Linked DNA regions of Homo sapiens: region 1 is linked to region 2. Evidence: promoter capture Hi-C in human tissues and cell types (Jung and others, 2019). All regions are on one chromosome and are shown on one strand. Each heading gives the region's core, a stretch centred on a gene start or on the middle of the fragment in contact. The rest is flanking DNA. Distances are from core to core; before and after follow the strand shown. Region 1 overlaps HLCS (holocarboxylase synthetase). Region 2 holds the start of SIM2 (SIM bHLH transcription factor 2).

Region 1 (4,590 bases), core at 653-3,152, 260 kb after region 2:
CTGGGCAGCCTAGACTAATGTGTGTGTTTCTACGTTAGTTTTTAGCAAAAAAAGTTTAAAAAGTAAGAAACAGGCTGGACATGGTGGCTCACAACTATAATTCCAGTGCTTGGTGAGGGCTGAGGTGAGAGGACTGCTTGAAGCCAGGAGTTGGAGATCAGTCTAGGAAACATAGCAATTTGTATGTTCACAAATTTGTAGAGATAAATAAATGAAAATAAGAATAAAATTTTAAAAACAAAATTTTTTTTTAAATATATAAAATCTTAGAAAAAAGCTTTTAGAATAAGGATAGAAAGAAAATATTTTTTACAGCTGTACAATGTGTTTGTTTTAAGCTGTTATTACGAAAGAATCAAAAATTTTAAAAAATCAAGTTTATAAAGTAAAAATATGATAGTAAGCTAAGATTAATTTATTATCGAAGAAGAAGGCTGTTATAAATTCAGTGTAGCCTAAGTGTACAGTGTTTATAAAGTCTAAAGTAGTGACTGTTGTGTCCTAGGCTTTCACATTCACACGCCACTCACTCACTGACTCGCCCTGAGCCACTTTCAGTCCTGTAAGCTCCATTCATAGCAAGTGCCCTAGACAGGTGTACTGTTTTTTATCTTTTATACTGTATCTTTACTGTGCCTTTTCTATGTTTAGATACACAAATACTTACCACTGTGTTACAGCTGCCTACAGTATCCAATGCAGTAACATGCTGTACAGGTTTATAGCCTAGGAGCAATAGGCTACCCCATAAATCCCAGGTGTAAAGTAGGCTACAGCATCTAGACTTGTATAAGTACACTCTATGATGTTTGCATGATGAAATCACCTAAGGACGCATTTCTCACAATGTGTATCTGTCGTGAAGCAACACATTAACTATAATGTATACGAATTATGTAAGTGTTCAAAAACGTGGTGTCTGTTAATCCAGACAACTTAAAAATCTAAAAAGAAACTGGGAGGAGGGGTAGGGGGAGTCATGAGGAAGGAGCAGGAGCAAGTAGATGGACTCAGGGGGTGGGGAGGCACGTGTAGTTCTAGCGGTGAGTTCATGGGTATTTATTGTATTATTTCAAATCCACAGGTGAATGAGATCCATGCATAAACCAACGATGAGAGTACATTTGGAACAAGGAGTATGGTTAACCCAATTCTGTGTACCTAGAGTCCTAAAATGAAATGAAATATTTTAAGATATTTGAGTTTGTAGGCCAGGTGTGGTGGCTCACACTTGTAATCCCAGCACTTTGGGAGGCCGAGGTGGGCAAATCACAAGGTCAGGAGATCAAGACCATTCTGGCTAACACGGTGAAACCCCATCTCTACTAAACATACAAAAAAAATTAGCCGGGTGTGGTGGTGGGCGCCTGTAGTCCCAGCTACTCGGGAGGCTGAGGCAGGAGAATGGCATGAACCCGGGAGGCAGGGTTGGCAGTGAGCCGAGATCGTGCCACTGCACTCTAGCCTAGGCAACAGAGCGAGACTCCGTCTCAAAAATAAATAAATAAATAAAAAATAAATAAAAGTCCAAGGAGCCAGAATGGTGGCTCATGGCTGTATCACAGCACTTCGGGAGGCTGAGGCGGGCAGATCACCTGAGGTCAGGAGTTCAAGACCCACCCTGGCCAACATGGTAAAACCCCGTCTCTACTAAAAATACAAAAAATTAGCCGGGTATGGTGGCAGGTGCCTGTAATTCCAGCTACTTGGGAGGCTGAGGCAGAAGAATCGCTTGAACCCAGGAGGTAGATGTTGCAGTGAGCCAAGATTGCACCACTGCAGTCCAGCCTGGACAACAGAGCCAGACTCCGTCTCAAAAAAAAAAAAAAAAAAAGCCCAAGGAATTGGTTACTGATAGAATCTGGAAGTTTGTCCCCTCCAAATCTCACGTTGAAATGTAATCCCCAGTGGTTGAGGTGGGGCCTGTGGGGGAAGTGTTTGGGTAATGGGAACAGATCCCTCATGAATAGTGTGGTGCTGTCCTCCCTATAGTGAGTGAGTTCTCACAAGACCTGGTTGTTTAAAAATGTGTGGCACCTCCCCCAGCTCAGTCTCACTCTCATTCTTGCCATGTGACACACCTGCACCTCTGTCACTTTCTGCCATGACTGTTCCTCAAGGCCCTCACCAGAAGCACATGCTGGCACCACTCTTCCTGTATGGCTCGCAGAACCTCTTCTTTATAAATTATCCAGCTCCAGGTATTTCTTTATAGCAATGCAAGAACTGCCTAATACAGTTACCATATGACAAGGCCTCTTTGTAGTTCAAAAAGAAAAGCCAGATATTAGCAATTTCATGTGATTTGACCTACTTGATTATTTAATTTATATTTTCAATAAATTCAAAATCATTTTTAAAATAAAAATAAAGTTTATGAATCGTCTTTTCTGCATATGAAAATTAGCCCTGAATTGGCTGGGCGCAGTGGCTCATGCCTGTAATCCCAGCATTTTGGGAGGCAGAGGCAGGCGGATCACGAGGTCAGGAAATCATCCCGACTAACATGGTGAAACCCCGTCTCCACTAAAAATACAAAAAATTACCTGGGCGTTGTGGCACGCGCCTGCAGTCCCAGCTACTCGGGAGGCTGAGGAAGGAGAATGGCATGAACCCGGGAGGCAGAGCTTGCAGTGAGCCGAGATCGCGCCACTGCACTTCGGCCTGGGCAACTGAGCAAGACTGCGTCTCGAAAAAAAAAAAAAAGAGGCCGGGCGCGGTGGCTCACGCCTGTAATCCCAGCACTTTGGGAGGCCGAGGCAGGTGGATCCCAAGGTCAGGAGATCGAAACCATCCTGGCTAACATGGTGAAACACCGTCTCTACTAAAAATACAATAAATAAATAAATAAATAAATTAGCCGGATGTGGCAGCATGTGCCTGTAGTCCCAGCTACTCGGGTGGCTGAGGCAGGAGGATGGCGTCAACCTGGGAGGCGGAGCTTGCAGTGAGCCGAGATCGCGCCACTGCACTCCAGCCTGGGCGACAGAGTGAGACTGTCTCAAAAAAAAAAAAAAAAGAAAGAAAGAAAGAAAGAAAATTAGCCCTGAGTTCACCAAAACCGTCGTATCAACAGCTGGTCGTCTTCTACCAAACATAAGAGACACAAGTACTGTTTGACTGGACCTAGGTTAATAAAAGCTTTATTTTGGAATCTCAATGATCTAGATCTCTTTAAAACCATTAATTCGTTCTCTAGTTACTAGAAAGGATAGAAGCATTGGTTAAAATCTTATCTCTCACTTAGCAGCTGGTTAAAACCTTGTCTAGGCCGGGAACAGTGGCTCACGCCTGTAATCCTAGCACTTTGGGAGCCTGAGGCAGGCAGATTGCCTGAGCTCAGGAGTTCGAGACCAGCCTGGGCAACACGGTGAAACCCGGTCTCTGCTAAAATACAAACAATTAGCTGGGCGTGGCAGCGTGCGCCTGTAGTCCCAGCTACTTGGGAGGGTGAGGCAGGAGAATTGCTTGAACCCGGGAGGTGGAGGTTGCAGTGAGCTGAGATCGCACCACTGCACTCCAGCCTGGGCAACACAGCAAGACTCCATCTCCAAAAAAAAAAGAAAGAAAACTTTGTCTGTCACTTAGCAATGATATTCCTATCACTTTAGGAATGTCATTTAATCTTATAACCTAAGTTTTCTTATCTTCAAAATGGCAATAATAATAATGATAATACTTTGTAGAGCCGTTAAGTATTAGTGATGACAGCTGCAGCCAGTCTGGAGCAGGGTAGGCGCGGCCAGGGATACGCGCTCTGTGGAACCAGGGGGAGCTGGGAGCAGGCAGGAGCCCTTCCCGCTTCTGAGTTGGCAGGGCAGGAGCCCAGTGCTCCCAGGCATAACTGCAGCCTCCCAGCCACAGCTGCGGACCTGGGCATCCCTGCACTCTCAGGGGTCCCAGAGGCCCCCGCTTCCCCACAGGCTTGGAAGTGCCTGATCCCGCTGCCTGGCCTCTTCCTGCTCCCTGTGCCCGCTCTGATTCTGGAGCAAAATTGAAGCTGAGCCTGGGCGGTGTCGCAACCCGGCCAGGTGGGTGCTGCTCAGGATGGCGCTGACACACCAGCCCCCTGCCACCTCAGCCCCCCTCTAGACTTTAGGAGCCACTCTGGACCACGAGGATGGGAGGGAGGCCGAGGAGGGGCTGAGGACGGCTGGTTGCAGGCCTGTAGGCACCCCTCAGCACAAACAGCCTGGGCACCTTGGACAACATGACTGACAGCAGAAGGCAGACAGGCTCATAGGTAGAAAGGGGCGGGTCCCTGGTGACGCCCTGCCTTCAAGCCAAGACCAGCCCAAAACCTGGGGACCTGGCTGTCAGTTCCAGGTGAAGCCTGTGGCCCAGAGTGAGAACTTAGAGTGCTTTTTCTGGCCCGCCCATGGCTGCCCATGGACCAATCAGCACGCGCTTCCTCCCTTCTGAGCCCATGAAAACCTCAGACCCAGCCAGACTCACACAGAGGCTGGGACTACCAGCTGCAGAAAGGAGCTACCCACTTCAGGTCTCCTGAGAGCTGTTCTGCCACTCAGTGAAGTTCCTCTCTGCCTTGCTCACCCTCCACATACCTCATTCTTCCTGGATGCAGGACAA
Region 2 (4,850 bases), core at 1,157-3,656:
CTCGAGGTGCGGTGCCCGTGTACTTCTGGTACTTTGCGTGGTGCCATCAGGGACCCCAGAGCCACAGCTGCGTGTGTGTGTGGATGTGTGTGTGTGTGTGCGCGCGCGCGCGTGTACGGCGAAAGGATGTGCTTGGGGGAGCCGAGTACACAACGTCTGCTTGGGCAGCTGCTGGGCAGGCGTTGGGCCTGGAGGTATCTCACACCCACGTATCTTCCAGTCTTCAAACACGGCATTGCTCTGCCTCCCGTAGCGCGCTTCGAACCTGCCTCGCGGACACGTGAACAGAGGCTGTCCCTGGGAAGATAAGTGCGCTTTCCCGTAAAATCCGGGAAATTTGCCTTGAGGAAAGTTTCCGTTCTTGTTACTTGTCGGGTTTCTCCCACTTCCACTTAGCCATGTTTCTGCGATCTGGGTAATCCCTTTCAAGCCCAGGAGGAATTCTCCCGGGTCCATAATTGAGGGTCGGAAGCCGTGGGGGTGAGAAACGCATTAAATCCTCCCGAAGCCCAGGAGGTGCCAGAGCGGGCTCAGGGGGCCGCCTGCGGAAGCTGCGGCAGGGGCTGGGTCCGTAGCCTCTAACCCCTTGGAGCTCCTTCTCCCAGAGGCCCGGAGCCGGCAGCTGTCAGCGCAGCCAGGAGCGGGATCCTGGGCGCGGAGGTGGGTCCGACTCGCCAGGCTTGGGCATTGGAGACCCGCGCCGCTAGCCCATGGCCCTCTGCTCAAGCCGCTGCAACAGGAAAGCGCTCCTGGATCCGAAACCCCAAAGGAAAGCGCTGTTACTCTGTGCGTCCGGCTCGCGTGGCGTCGCGGTTTCGGAGCACCAAGCCTGCGAGCCCTGGCCACGATGTGGACTCCGCAAGGGGCTAGGGACAGGCAGGGGGAGAGCCCGGGTTTGCGCACACCTTCCAGCCCCTGGAGGGAGCCTGCTCGGCTTCGAACGCCTTCGAACTTTTGACCTTCAAAGGAGTCCCTGGAAAAGGTCAGGAGCGCCTGCTGCAGGCACGGTTGCCGAAGGCCAGGCCTTCCTGGCGCAGGGGAGGGCCAGGGGAGGGAAGCGGATACTCAGTCGCTGTCCGACGGCGAGTTTTCGGAGCAGCAGGCTCATGATCCCGGGCCAGTGGCGAGAGCAGTGACACCGAGAACCCAAATCTCCGCGCCCCCATCCGCGGCCCGGTGTCCTCCCGGCCCCTGCTGACCTCCAGGTCACGCACCCCACTGCTCCACGGCTCTGCAGCCTGTGGCACACGGCCGAGAGTCCCCACATGATCTCGACGCCAAGGTAAGGAATTGCCCTGCGTCCTCTGAGCCTGTCTCTGGCCTGGGGGGCCGGGAAAGCTGCACTCCTGGAAGAGGTGGGGTTATGTGACCGCCGCTGCAGGGGTGCGCGGAGGACTCCTGGGCCGCACACCCATTTCCAGGCTGCGGGAGCCGGACAGGGGAGGGCAGAGGGGGGACAAAAGGACTCTTTAGGTCCAAAATGACCCTGAAGGAGAGTCCAGAATGCCCAGTGGCCGCGTCTGCAACGGAGTCTTCTTTCTCCAATTGCCTTCTGCCCCATCACCATGGGCCCCACCTGCGCCACCTGCGCCCACCCTGTGACCCTGGCTCAGCGACCTTGGCCCTTAATCGCCCAACGCCGATTCCTCAAAATTCCGGCTGCGCTGAATCGGGCTGCTTTTGCCGCCGCCCCGGCAGTTGGGCCCTGTTTCCGCCGGCGCCCTGGGAGAGGCCTCACCACTCGGCTGGGCTCCCTGGCCCCTCCCTTCCCCTGGCCTGAGCGCCCCTGCGGCCTCCCGCTCCTCCTGAGAAGGCGACAATCTCTTTGCACCTTAGTGTTTCGAGGACAGAAAGGGCAGAAGGGTCACTTCGGAGCCACTCGCGCCGTTTTCACGTGTGTGTGTAATGGGGGGAGGGGGGCTCCCGGCTTTCCCCTTTTCAGCTCTTGGACCTGCAACACCGGGAGGGCGAGGACGCGGGACCAGCGCACCCTCGGAAGGCTCGATCCTCCCCGGCAGGGCGCCTGGCCAACGAGTCGCGCCGCCTCCTCTCGGCCGCGCCTGCTGGTGACCTTCCCGAGAGCCACAGGGGCGGCCTCGGCACCCCTCCTTCCCTCGCCCTCCCTGCCGCCCATCCTAGCTCCGGGGTCCGGCGACCGGCGCTCAGGAGCGGGTCCCCGCGGCGCGCCGTGTGCACTCACCGCGACTTCCCCGAACCCGGGAGCGCGCGGGTCTCTCCCGGGAGAGTCCCTGGAGGCAGCGACGCGGAGGCGCGCCTGTGACTCCAGGGCCGCGGCGGGGTCGGAGGCAAGATTCGCCGCCCCCGCCCCCGCCGCGGTCCCTCCCCCCTCCCGCTCCCCCCTCCGGGACCCAGGCGGCCAGTGCTCCGCCCGAAGGCGGGTCTGCCATAAACAAACGCGGCTCGGCCGCACGTGGACAGCGGAGGTGCTGCGCCTAGCCACACATCGCGGGCTCCGGCGCTGCGTCTCCAGGCACAGGGAGCCGCCAGGAAGGGCAGGAGAGCGCGCCCGGGCCAGGGCCCGGCCCCAGCCGCCTGCGACTCGCTCCCCTCCGCTGGGCTCCCGCTCCATGGCTCCGCGGCCACCGCCGCCCCTGTCGCCCTCCGGTCCGGAGGGGCCTTGCCGCAGCCGGTTCGAGCACTCGACGAAGGAGTAAGCAGCGCCTCCGCCTCCGCGCCGGCCGCCCCCACCCCCCAGGAAGGCCGAGGCAGGAGAGGCAGGAGGGAGGAAACAGGAGCGAGCAGGAACGGGGCTCCGGTTGCTGCAGGACGGTCCAGCCCGGAGGAGGCTGCGCTCCGGGCAGCGGCGGGCGGCGCCGCCGGGTTGCTCGGAGCTCAGGCCCGGCGGCTGCGGGGAGGCGTCTCGGAACCCCGGGAGGCCCCCCGCACCTGCCCGCGGCCCACTCCGCGGACTCACCTGGCTCCCGGCTCCCCCTTCCCCATCCCCGCCGCCGCAGCCCGAGCGGGGCTCCGCGGGCCTGGAGCACGGCCGGGTCTAATATGCCCGGAGCCGAGGCGCGATGAAGGAGAAGTCCAAGAATGCGGCCAAGACCAGGAGGGAGAAGGAAAATGGCGAGTTTTACGAGCTTGCCAAGCTGCTCCCGCTGCCGTCGGCCATCACTTCGCAGCTGGACAAAGCGTCCATCATCCGCCTCACCACGAGCTACCTGAAGATGCGCGCCGTCTTCCCCGAAGGTGAGGCCTCAGGTGGGCGGCCGGGGACGCTGGGGAGCCCGGCGGCCCCGGCCCAGGCGGGAAGCGCAAGCCAGCCCGCCCAGAGGGGTTGCCGCGGCCTGGCGTCCAGAGCTGGGGCGTCTGAGGGAGGTTGCGTGAGGGTCTTCGGCTTCGGCGCTGGCTTGGGGCGAGGGGCCAGGGCCTTGGCGGCCCAGGCGACCAAACCCTCTCCTGGTCCAGGGCTGGGTGAGGGCGAATTACGAATTGTTCCAGGGGCAGGCAGTCCCCCAGCCCGCACGGCCAGCGAGTTCTTTCTGGTTTTGTTCTTTCTCCCTTTCCTCCTTCCTTCCTTCGCCAGTGCATTCTGGTTTGGTTTGGATTTTTTTCTCTCTTTCTTTCCTTTCTTTCTTTCTTTCTCTTTCTTTTTCTTTCTTTCTTCCTCTTTCTTTCATTCTCCCCTTCCTTCCTTCCTTGGCCCCCTCTCTCCCTCCCTCCTTCCTTCCTTCCTTTGCCAATGCATTGGTTTGTTTTCTTTCCTTTTCTGCTTTCCTTCCTTTCTTTGGAAGTTCACTCTGGTTTTGCTTTCTTTCTTTCCCCATCCCTTCCTTTCTTTATCCCTCCTTCCCTTCCTCCTTTTCTTTCTACGATTCCCTTTATTTTTCCTTCATTCCTCCCTCTTTTTGTCTCTTCTGGAGGAGGTGAAGGAGGGTCAGCTTCAGGCGCTGCGAGTCAGCGGGGATCACGGTGAGGCCCAAGCACTGCAGGCTGAGGCCACAGAGCGAACACTTGTGCTGAGCCGGGCCCTCTCGTGAGGCTGGGGTGCGGGAAGTCCGGGCAGGAGAGACCCGCCCCCGCCGTTGCTGAGCTGAGACCCGGCTGAAAGAGAGGGGTCCGATTAATTCGAAAATGGCAGACAGAGCTGAGCGCTGCCGTTCTTTTCAGGATTGAAAATGTGCCAGTGGGCCAGGGGCGCTGGGACCCGCGGTGCGGAAGACTCGGAACAGGAAGAAATAGTGGCGCGCTGGGTGGGCTGCCCCGCCGCCCACGCCGGTTGCCGCTGGTGACAGTGGCTGCCCGGCCAGGCACCTCCGAGCAGCAGGTCTGAGCGTTTTTGGCGTCCCAAGCGTTCCGGGCCGCGTCTTCCAGAGCCTCTGCTCCCAGCGGGGTCGCTGCGGCCTGGCCCGAAGGATTTGACTCTTTGCTGGGAGGCGCGCTGCTCAGGGTTCTGGTGGGTCCTCTGGGCCCAGGAGCTGGGAGGGCTGCGCCGGCCTCTGGAGCCCCGGGAGCCAGTGCCGAGGTAGGGAGACAACTTCCGCCGCAGGGCGCCGGACGGTCGGGGCAGAGCAGGCGACAGGTGTCCCTAGGCCGCAGGGCGCTTCCATAGCGCCATCCCCACCAGGCACTCTACTCGAAATCGGAAAGCTCGACCTTTTGCGTTCGCCTCTGCCAAGCCTGTTATTTGTGCTGGCCGCTGGGTCTGGAGCTGCGCTTCTCGGCCCCTCCCCGGTGGAGCGCAGAGGGCTGGTCTGCAAGCGCGGCCTCCAGCCCCGCGGCTCCCCGGCCCAGGAGCCAGGCGCGGGCTGACCCGGGAGCACCCGGCAGCGGAGGGGGCTGGAAGCGGACCCTAGGCCTCTCCTGTGCCACCCGGCCCTACCGCG

The links. The method cuts DNA at HindIII sites, captures the fragments that hold promoters and counts their contacts. A contact is called where the count stands out against the background at its distance.
Region 1: a contact is called between a fragment that was not itself captured here and the fragment with the promoter of SIM2 in region 2, in 3 of the 25 tissues and cell types used here (H1 embryonic stem cells, aorta and stomach).

What each region holds. Positions count from the first base shown.
Region 1 is chr21:36,955,238-36,959,827 of GRCh38, forward strand. The region is part of intron 2 of HLCS (holocarboxylase synthetase); the gene reads right to left. Among named protein-coding and RNA genes, the nearest start is that of HLCS-AS1, 8.9 kb to the right of the region's middle. The HindIII fragment of the contact is 4,964 bases long and covers 1-4,384 here.
Region 2 is chr21:36,696,709-36,701,558 of GRCh38, forward strand. SIM2 (SIM bHLH transcription factor 2) reads left to right here and starts at 2,407. Exons shown (of 11, transcript NM_005069.6): 1 at 2,407-3,213. The coding sequence starts at 3,039. It overlaps LOC105369308 (a long non-coding RNA gene), which reads right to left and starts at 2,283. Exons shown (of 3, transcript NR_188246.1): 1 at 2,201-2,283. It overlaps LOC107985492 (a long non-coding RNA gene), which reads left to right and starts at 3,808. Exons shown (of 4, transcript XR_001755029.1): 1 at 3,808-4,850. RefSeq lists enhancers at 3,634-4,227, 4,228-4,820. The HindIII fragment of the contact is 19,577 bases long and covers 1-4,850 here.